Regions from separate parts of the Homo sapiens genome. Here region 2 is linked to region 1. The links are contacts of gene promoters, found by promoter capture Hi-C in blood cells and fetal thymus (Javierre and others, 2016). All regions are on one chromosome and are shown on one strand. The core of a region is centred on a gene start or on the middle of the fragment in contact, and the rest is flanking DNA. Distances in the headings are between cores, read along the strand shown. Region 1 holds the start of MYO10 (myosin X). Region 2 has its middle 440 kb from the start of LINC02100.

Region 1 (5,409 bases), core at 2,246-4,745:
GTACTTACTTCTATTACAATGTGAAACATTTCAGGTATTTTCTCCCAAATTTATTCTATTGAAACCACCTACAATTGTTTTCAGTTTCAGCAGAAAAAAATTCCCTTGAGGATTTCTGAATGCTAAGGTATGAGAAATAAAAGAAACACTTGTGTAAAAATTTAAATCACATTAAAAAAATTCCCTTTTGTTTGAGAAGGTAAAAACATTTGATGTTTTAAACATCCAAGAGGGTAAGTGAGCCCAAAGGATGGACTGCTGTTTAGTTAAGCATGAAAGGACTTTAGAATTGTCAGTTATTAACTTCTAATTTGTGTGAAAGAAACTTTGAGAACTTTCCCTTTCTATAACTAGTAATTAAGCCATTATTCTAACAGGGGCAATTAAGGGGTGAGTGTTTAATAAAAAAAAAAGATAATGGAAAAGACTCTACGCCCCAAGACACATCAAGACAAGGAATGGCAGCAGCAGCAACAACAAAAGGAACTCAGTTTGAATTCACAAAGGAAATGAGACAACCCGTTTCAACTAAAAACGAACAAACTGTTGGTGGAGAACAAAAACAGAAGATTGTTATTACTTAACTCACAAATATACATATGCAACTCTCTCTTTCAGTGGGGAAATGATCCAATCAGTATTAAAATTTTGTTGATTGTAGATTAATGTATGCCACTAAATAAGATAACTTAACTTGAGCTTTTGGGGGTGTTTTATTTTGAAAATGTCATACTCTGTTAGCCTGGTTTATTTGAAAGACAGGTAGGACAGAGAGTTGAGACAGACCTTTGCCTCATGGAAACACACTCATCCTTCTATTATTACCATTCTTGTGCCTCTGTCGCTTCTCAGAGGGCAGGGTTTAATAGATTTGGTCTAAACTGCTTTGTCCAGTGGTTAGCACAACTCTCTCAGAGGAAGCACTCAAATTTTAAGAAATGGTAATAAGACTAGATATTCTTAGAAATCTATTGATTTAAAATGCTTCCCAGTCTCTGTCCAATCCTGTCAAAGCCCTTATAAATTTAACACGCTGCTTTTTAACAACTGATTCAACCCCAGATACTTGAGGGTTAGATATCTTATTTAGAACATGCATTTTGCTGTTCAGCAAGTAAGAGTTTCGCTGCCACAGCTTATCTTACACCTTTTTGAGAATATGGGGATATATAGAAAAGCTGATGAATTCTGATAAAGTGGCGATTCCCAAGCTCTGAACTGGTTATCGGGGTGCTTATTAAAATGCAAATTCTTTCAATATAATCCACAGGTAAAGAAATAAAAAATGCAAATTCTTAGGAAATCAATTTGCCACAGAGATTTGGAGTCAGTTTTTTTTTCTTTTTAGCAACTGATAAGGTGATCTAGGGATCAACATTGATAAAACATTGATGTAAGTTTTTTTTTTTAACTTTCTTACCCTGTTAACTGATGATGTAAGCTTTTTGAAGAAATAAAATGATTCAGTAAAATCTAAACTTTATATATTGGATCTGGCTCACCATTCTTTACGTGAGTCAAATTGGGGGCAATTATTAACGATATCTTCATAATTGGCAGGAAAATCACCTTTAAAAGATTAGTAGACTTTAAAAAAACAGTTTTAGGCTTACATAAAAATTGGCCAGAAAGTACAGAGAGTGTCCATAGACCCCTCCCAGCCCCTCACCCTCACTTGCCCCTATTATTAACATGTTGCATTAGTGTGGTACATTTGTTATAACTGATGAGCCGATATGGAAAGTGACTTTTGAAATGACATGGCGAGGTTGCCCAACGTATCAGTGGCTGGGCTGATGCTGGGAACCACGTCACACCCACACACTCACTTCAACAATCTCCCTGGTAATTTCTCTGGCAGAGATGTTGTGTGCAGATTAATACCATAATGACTGTAATTGTTCTGCTCCAGTATCTGAACACCAGTGGTTGCAGGACCCATTTGACTAAGCACTGGGATTGTTGGTATTTATCCTGACTCCATCTTCACTTTCCTTGCGACCTTGGACACAAGCTTTAATGGCTCAGCGCCTTAAGCGTGTAAACCTGTGAAACAGAACAACATTGCACAATATCATTAACTAATTTACACCTTGACTCTTTCTAAAGGGAAGTGAGGTGGGAGCAATGATATTAATGGTGAAGAACTGGACTGGGATAAGTTACAAACATGCTTGACTTTCCCCATAAGGATTACAGAAGGATGTTTCATTCATTCATTCATGCTGTGAGACAGCCTGGGGATACTCATCTTAAAGCACAGTCCTTCCCCAACAGTCTTAGGAATAAATCCTAGAGTGGGCATCTAGCCCAGTGGTTACGGGGAGCTTGGGTGGGGTGAGTGGAGTAGCATCTTTGGGAAGGGTTCCTTCCCCTGGAAGGTGTGACTTTGTGAGCTGAGTTTTAAAGGTTGAGTAGCAGTTGGCAAATTCCCTGGAGAGAGCATCTCAAATCTTTTGTGCTGAAGAACCAGCCATTTTTGTTCCCAGTCGGCCAGGTACCAATACACTGCGGCGCCAGGTGTGACTCACCACGTGAGTCTGACAACACCCAAACTGGTTTATACTCGGTTCAAAGAGTCCACTGATCATGTGCTTGGATGTCGTGGCATTATTAAATTGCTACAAACGTTTACTCTTAATTTCTCTACTTGTTACAAGCTTTCGTTCAGCACAGGACCAGGTAGCACCTGAGGGGCACCTGGAAAGCAGATTGTTCCAGCCTGCGTTCTAACAAGGTTCCCAGGTGACCCTCGCACAGCATAAAGTTAAAAGAACTGCCCTAGGGGAAACGGGACTCAGTGCCAGGTGGGTTTGATCATTCGTCCATCTCAGTGCCATCTGCCATCTCTGCTTCCTTGAGGTCTAGAAAAGGGTTACATTTTTAAAGGTGATATTGGCCACGTCCCCTTCCAGTTTCAAAACTACATTTCCCCGCTGTTACGCAAACGTCTTAAGCAAACCCGACTGCAGGACAGAAAGTCAACACGGGAATGCAGCTTCCAGAAATTCTGATTAGCCTCCGTCTTCCGCTTTGATCTGGCCCCGCAGCCCCGGCAGCTCCGCTGACCGCGCTTCCTTCCCGAGATTGCTAGTCTACCGGGCTGCATTAATGAGATCCGTGTTGAGCCGGTTCCCGGGTCTGCTAAACATGAAAGGCACAGAAGCCCCCAGTCCCTTCTCCTCCCCTCTAAGTGATTGTTTAGTCTCTCTCTGCAGAGGGAAGAGTTAAATCCCCTCCCCACGCCTACGTGGGAAGACCTGGGGAAACACGCGGCCCCCTCCCGGGTCCGCTAACGAGCCTGCGGCTGCTTCGGGCTTAGAGTGGGCGGGGCCTGGTCGGGAAGGGGGCGGGGCGCTCCGCCCGGGCGGGGCCAGACGGTGTGGTTGGCGGAGGGCCAAGCTCCTGGGGGCGGGGCCGCGAGCGGGAGGGCGGGGCCGGCTGCGGGAGGGCGGGGCCGGCTGCGGGAGGGCGGGGCGAGGTCGCTGGGCTGTAGTCCCGCGGGCGAGAGCTGGCTGAGCCGCGGCGCGGGACTGCTCACCTCCAAGCGCTCGCGCGGGGATCGCGGCTCCTGCTCACTTTGCGGCCCGCTGTCCTCCTGCCCGCCCCGAGGGCCCCCGGCCGGAGCGCAGAGGGAGGGGGCCGCGCTCGCCAGCACCCCGCCGCCTTCCCCCGCCTGGGGGAAGAATGTGCCACCAGCTGTTCTCCGCTTGCGAGCGCTGCGCCCAGTAGTGAGGAACTTGGAGGAAGAAGAGACAAAGGCTGCCGTCGGGACGGGCGAGTTAGGGACTTGGGTTTGGGCGAACAAAAGGTGAGAAGGACAAGAAGGGACCGGGCGATGGCAGCAGGGGAGCCCCGCGGGCGCGCGTCCTCGGGAGTGGCGCCGTGACACGCATGGTTTCCCCGGACCCGCGGCGGCGCTGACTTCCGCGAGTCGGAGCGGCACTCGGCGAGTCCGGGACTGCGCTGGAACAATGGATAACTTCTTCACCGAGGTAAGTGCGCTCCCAGTCCGACCTGGCCTCCGGAGCCCAGGGAGAGAGGCGTCTGCCCACCACGCCGCGCGCCCTGGGTACTTTTTCCTAAGCCCTGGAAGGCGCAACTTTCTGGGAGTCTCCTGAAATCACCCCCCATCCCCCCGCGGAGTCTCTGATGAGTAAGCCCGGGCAGGTTTTGTTTCGTCCTGTCCCGCGCTCGCATTTTGCTCCGGGAGGTAGCGAAGGTGCGTTTCCGTTTGCGTGGGTGGCTGGCTCTCGGGGCGCCCTGGGACACCCGCGCCAGGTGAGGCGGCGCGCGCCGGGGCGCGGGCGGGGCGATCCGCCCGCTCGACTGCCCGGGTGCAGGAAGCCCAATAAAATGTTCAGCGGGGACCTGCCTTTCTCCAAGAAAGGTCTTGTCTGGTATTTCCTTTGCAAAACGTGCGGGCTTCCTGTGCAGGGGTTCAAACACTTCCAGAGGAGACGGCTTAATGAAGTGTGAGAAGGAGAGGCAAGGGTTTAATCGGTTACTTTGCTCGCCGAGAAGTGCTCTTTTAAGGCTTGGGATAACTCCAGACCCTGGGATCAAATGATCATGTATTTGTGTAGAGTGTCCATGCAGATTTTGAATTCGAATGTAAAGAAAATTCGTTTAGGGCAAACAGTGGCTATTTTAATAGATGAAACGGATGCCCTCTTTAGGGTCGTTGAGGGTGGGACACTGAAACTTAACTTGAGAACCCTTTTTCCCCCTTTGGGATCGAGACTTACTGTGGTTTCTTGGCTCCCTTTCCTTTCTTGGTTGTGTTTATTTAATAAATTCTGTTTAAGTTTGAGGTTTGAAGTGGCTCAAAGTAAACTTAGTTGACTTGAGAGAGTCTGATGTGATTTTCGTTGAAAGCCAGGGAATGTTTTCTGAGTGCAGAACCGCTTTGGAGTCTTCCAGCAAATCAGATTGATGAGGGCTTGCCTCTGTGTTAGCCGACTTGGTTTATCTGATTTAATTGGATATAATATTTCAAGTCATTCTGCTTTCTGCATGCTCACTGACTGTATTCTCAGACAGCTATTCATACTGGCCAAAGTGATAAATGCATTCTTGTTTAGTAGTCATATCTAGTTTTTAAAAGTGGTGTTTCAGATGTGATACCCACATTCATTGTGGAAGGAAGACTAGAAAGGAATTATCCATCAATACATATTTTTCCTTTTCTTAAAAAAAGTGAAATATATATAATTGTGAGACGCTCGCATTTTCTAGTCCATAGACTTTTGTTTTCATGCTTGTCGAAAGGCACCAGAACTTTCTGCAAGAGTTGCACGTTGTCCAGTGGTAAAGGACCCTCGGGCTACAGTGAGTTCCGGTGTTTAATTGCTTGCATCTGTAAGAAAACGGAGGCCCTGCCCCTAGGGCAATGATTCTTAACTTTGT
Region 2 (4,874 bases), core at 1,780-4,279, 1.4 Mb before region 1:
TTATTCTTCTTTAAGATACTAAAGGCAATTCTCTTAGAAGAGAGTGATTCTACTGGGATTTACCCACAGGAAAGGGGATATAGAAATTAAGATAGCCTTGCTCATCAGTGAGTGGAAGTTAGAGCTCCACTTTTCAGGAGAGAAGACCAGCTCTTTCCATTCAAGGGCCTAAAGGAGAAGTAGTAGGACACTGAGGGAGACTGAGAGTCCTTGATGGTCCCTGCCTACAAACTGCAGAGTCCAGGAATCATCTGAATCACAGAAGGCATTGAGTCCTCTATACCAGGAAAAAAATGGCTAAGTACAAATATCTCACCAATGCCAAGAACAGAGGCCACTCCAACTCCAAATGCTGAAAGCTGACTCAGGTAGAAGAACATCATTCTGTTGTTGATTCTTTGGCTGTTTCTATCCTTCAGATGATCAGTGGCTAATATTCTAGTTGAATATTTACATATTATTTTATGCTTCAGTGGAATTTAATTCATTCATGTGTAGGGAACTATGTTAAATTAATAGCTTTGCATGAATCTAGGTCATAATTCAGAGCCAAGCACTCAGGGTAAAGTGAATATTATCTCCTTATATTGTAGTAAACTTTCAGGTGAACAAAACTTTAGAGTTTAGTAAGAAAAAGTAGGAATTGCAGCCTCCACTCTACCTACTTGATGCCCATCCACACAGAGTTGTTGAACATTTGCTCTGTAGGATGCACTGAGCTCATATTTTGGACCAAATTGCTAGGGATTCTCTCTCTCTCTCGTGTGTGTGTGTATGTGTGTGTGTGTGTGTGTGTGTGTATGTGTGTGGGTGATGGGTCATTTGCCAATTTAGTGTTTTTTTTTTAATCATATAATAGTAATAGTTATACTAAAGGGGAAATACATGGGCACATGCTTAAAAGAAAATGAAAAACCCATATACACATCGGCTCAGATTTTTGCTTTTCTACCTTTTTGTAGAAAAAAATACAGTGCCACATTCCCAATAAGAAAGGCTACCAACAAAGAAAAAAAGACTTGGCATCTAGCATTATCCAATATCAGAATTTGTTTTGCTGGATAAAAAAATTAGGATTATAGTGGTGGGTAAGCTACTGAGTTTTGCAGTGTTCTGAGAATTTCTAGGCATTATCAGATTAATTCCTAAGAAAGACCTTATGGAATATGCATTGTCATCTCTATTTTATAAATAAAGCAGGAAGACTAAATATGTCCAATGTCACAAAATTAGTCGCAGAACTAGAATTCAATAAGCCCATGCTCTTTCTCTGGTTAAACCAAGGGTCTTTCAATGCCATGAACAATGCTTGCAAACCAAATGTAGTATTTGGTCCCACAAATTACTGTATCTGCTTACTGTCAGATATAATAAACATCTTATCATAACTCTAGATACTACTTTAACCTATTTGGTTTGTGCTTTATTGACAGCATCAACTCTAAAACATAATCTCTTCTTGAAAATATATGAAATTTACCTACAGCCATCTGACCTTCGACAAAGTAGACAAAAATAAGCAATAGGAAAAGGACTCCCTATTCAAAAAATGGTGCAAGGATAGTTGGCTAGCCATATGCAGAAGAATCAAACTGGATACCTTCCTCTCATCATATGCAAAAATTAACTCAAAATTTAAAAGATTTAAATGTAAAACCTCAAGCTATAAGAATCCTAGAAGAAAACCTAGGAAACACCATTCTGAACATTGACCTCAGAAAAGAATTTATGACTAAGTCCTCAAAAGCAATTGCAACAAAAACAAAAATTGGTAGGTGGGACCTAATGACACTAAATAGTTTTTGCACAGCCAGTGAAACTATCAACAGAGTAAACAGATAACCTATGGAATGGGAGAATATATTCCCAAACCATACATTTGACAAAGGTCTAATATCCATAATCTATAAGGAATTTAACAAGCAAAAAAAAAAAAAAAAAAAAAAAAAACCATTTAAAAATGGGTAAAAGACATGAACAGTCATTTCTCAAAAGAAGTCACAAAAGTGGCCTACAAACATGAAAAAAATGCTTATGTCACTAATCATCAGAGAAATGCAAATGAAAACCACAATGAGATACCATCTCACAGCAGTAAGAATGGCTACAATTAAAACGTCAAAACACAACAGGTGCTGGCGAGGCTGCTGAGAAAGGGGAACACTTACACATTGTTGGTGGGAATCCAAATTAATTCAGCCACTGTGGGAAGCAGTTTGGAGATTTCTCAAAAAACTTAAACTAGAACTACCATTTGACCTAGCAATCGCATTACTGGGTTTATATACAAAAGAAAGCAAATCATTCTCCCGAAAAGACACATGCAGTCATATGTTCATTGCAACACAATTCCACAATAGCAAAGGCATGAAATCATCCTAGGTGTCCATAAATGGTGAAATGTATAAAGAAAATGTGGTACATATACACCATGGAATACCACGCAGTTCTAAGAGAATGAATTCATGTCCTTTGCAACAACATAGATGCAGCTGGAGGCTATTATTCTAAGTGAATTAGCACAGGAAAAAAAAAAAAAAAAACAAATACCACATGTTCTCACTTGTAAGTGGGAGCTAAATATTGGGTACTCAGGGACATAAAGATGGTAACAACAGAAATGGGAAATACTAGAAAGGGGAGGGAGTAAGGGAAGAAAAGGTTGAAAAAGTGTTGAGTACTATGCTCACTACCTGGGTGATGGGATCATTTGATCACCCCAAACTTCAGTATCATGCAGCACACCCAGGTAACAAACCTGCACATGCACTCCCTGAATCTAAAGTAAAAGCTGAAAAAGAAGAAAATAGGTGTGAAACAGATTATAATTTCTTATGGCAACAGACAATCTCATTAAACATCAGATCCAATAATTCATTTTTAAAATTCTAATTAGGTATTAATCTACACACTTTAGAAAGAGGCCAGGAAATTAAATTAGTTTTAAAATTTAACAACGAAATAATTATAAATAGTATGTGTACCCTATTTTGCAAACAAAATAAAATTATCATTTTATTCAAATGGTAATACCACTTGTGATTGTCAAATAAATGTTTCTTCTCAGTGACATTACCATTTGAATCAAAATGATTATTCAGTGAATTCGCAATCTTCACTCAGTCTCCATTTTTAGTTTGTTGGATTAAAAAAATGCTTCAAGGCTTTAAATCCTTCCAATGTAGTAGACATCAATGTTTTTTCAGTACAATAAGATTTTTCATTATAATTGTTACTTCACTATTTCACCTGTTTAAAATTAATATCTAATATGAGTATATATATATAAATAATTATTTATGCTAGGACTTAACTACTTCTGAAGTACTTTTTTTCCTACAATAAAATAAAACTGCTTCCCATGGAAGAACTTGTCCTGTGATTCTCTATGAATGACAGAATGAACATACATGTACTAGCATCAGGAAAAACTCAAATTGCCAGTGAATTAACTCGTTGAACTCATTGTTCTGTGTTGCTTTACTCTGACAGACAGTGTATGTTTCTACCTTAAACTATGTCATGTGGTCAGAACAAGACATGAAAATAAAGATCTAGTCTAAGGCCCAGCCTATAAAACATCAGAAAATAAAACAATATGGACGAATGTAATTCAAAAGTTTCTATAAAATTTGTTTCATCTCTGTAATTCTCTTTCATTTTATTTGCTTTTTAGAAATTTCAAGTTAAGGAAATTCAGTTGTACTTGTTTCTGGCATGTGGGCATTCCTCTAAAGATGCGATAAACAGAAAAACAAAGTCTGCCATAACCATTCAAAGCAGGAAAGGGCAACCTCGAAAAACATACTTATAATGATATTGATGCATATTTTAATAGAAAAATAAAACTTATTTTAGGGAAATCTCTGTTCTGTTCTAAAAAATTCCCTCTTTGTGAACCCTTGAATATTTAAAAACATTTAAGAAATTGACCCCTCCATTTATATTTTAATAAGAACCTTATGGCTTATATTTATATCATCTGTTCATTAAATAGGTCATCACTTTTAAGAAGCCAAATATTTCAGTTACTCCTGGCTGCAGAGCAGTCATTTTAAGTCTATAAAAGAAAATACAGGAAAAAAAAAAAGAATTAGTATCTCTGGGTGTCAAGATTAACTTAAAGTTTCTCCCTAGACATTATGTCAACAGATCTTCTTCCCTTCCTTCAATAGAAGCAGTAAGAAGAATTTCATGAGCCTATAAATTTATTACCCCTAGAGATGTAAAAAATGGATTAAAACTCTTCAAATTCCTTCACACCCTTCCCTATTGTTGGAGATACAGACAAAGCAGTGATGACTTATAATGACAATGTGTTTATTAAGAAGAGAGAGAATGGTGGTATAAAAGTTAGATATGGAAAGTGTGGAGCAGGTATAGCTTAAGCTCTATGGGCATAATTATCTTAATTGAGCAATGCACTAGAAAATGATTATCTAATTCACTGGTTCTCAGCCATGGTTACACATTAAAATCACCTGGAATGATTTTTTTTAAGAAAACACCCAAGCCTGAGCCCAAGTCTGAGCACAAGTACTGAGGCTTCTGACTAATTTATTGTCAGTTGAAGCCTGATATGGTTTATCTCTGTGTCCCCACCCAAATGTCATGTTGAATTGTAATTCCCAATGTTGGGGGAGAAACCTGGTTGGAGGTGATGTGATCATGAGGATGGATTTCCCCCTTGGCTGTTCTCATGATAATGAGAGCATTCTCAGGAAATCTATTGTTTTAAAGTGTGTGGCACTTCCCCTTTTGCTCACCCTTTCTTCCTCCTGCTCCACTATGTGAAGATTGTGCCTGCTTCTCATTCACCTTCAGCCATGACTGTAAGTTTGCTGAGGCCTCCCCAGCCATCCCTCCTGTACAGT

What was found. The method cuts DNA at HindIII sites, captures the fragments that hold promoters and counts their contacts. A CHiCAGO score of 5 or more calls a contact.
Region 2: a contact is called between a fragment that was not itself captured here and the fragment with the promoter of MYO10 in region 1, in 3 of 17 cell types (M2 macrophages, monocytes and M0 macrophages). The highest score is 7.6, in M2 macrophages.

What each region holds. Positions count from the first base shown.
Region 1 is chr5:16,934,374-16,939,782 of GRCh38, reverse strand. It overlaps MYO10 (myosin X), which reads left to right and starts at 3,495. Exons shown (of 41, transcript NM_012334.3): 1 at 3,495-3,995. The coding sequence starts at 3,975. The HindIII fragment of the contact is 4,395 bases long and covers 2,663-5,409 here.
Region 2 is chr5:18,299,235-18,304,108 of GRCh38, reverse strand. No RefSeq gene overlaps it. Among named protein-coding and RNA genes, the nearest start is that of LINC02100, 440 kb to the left of the region's middle. The HindIII fragment of the contact is 6,425 bases long and covers 1-4,874 here.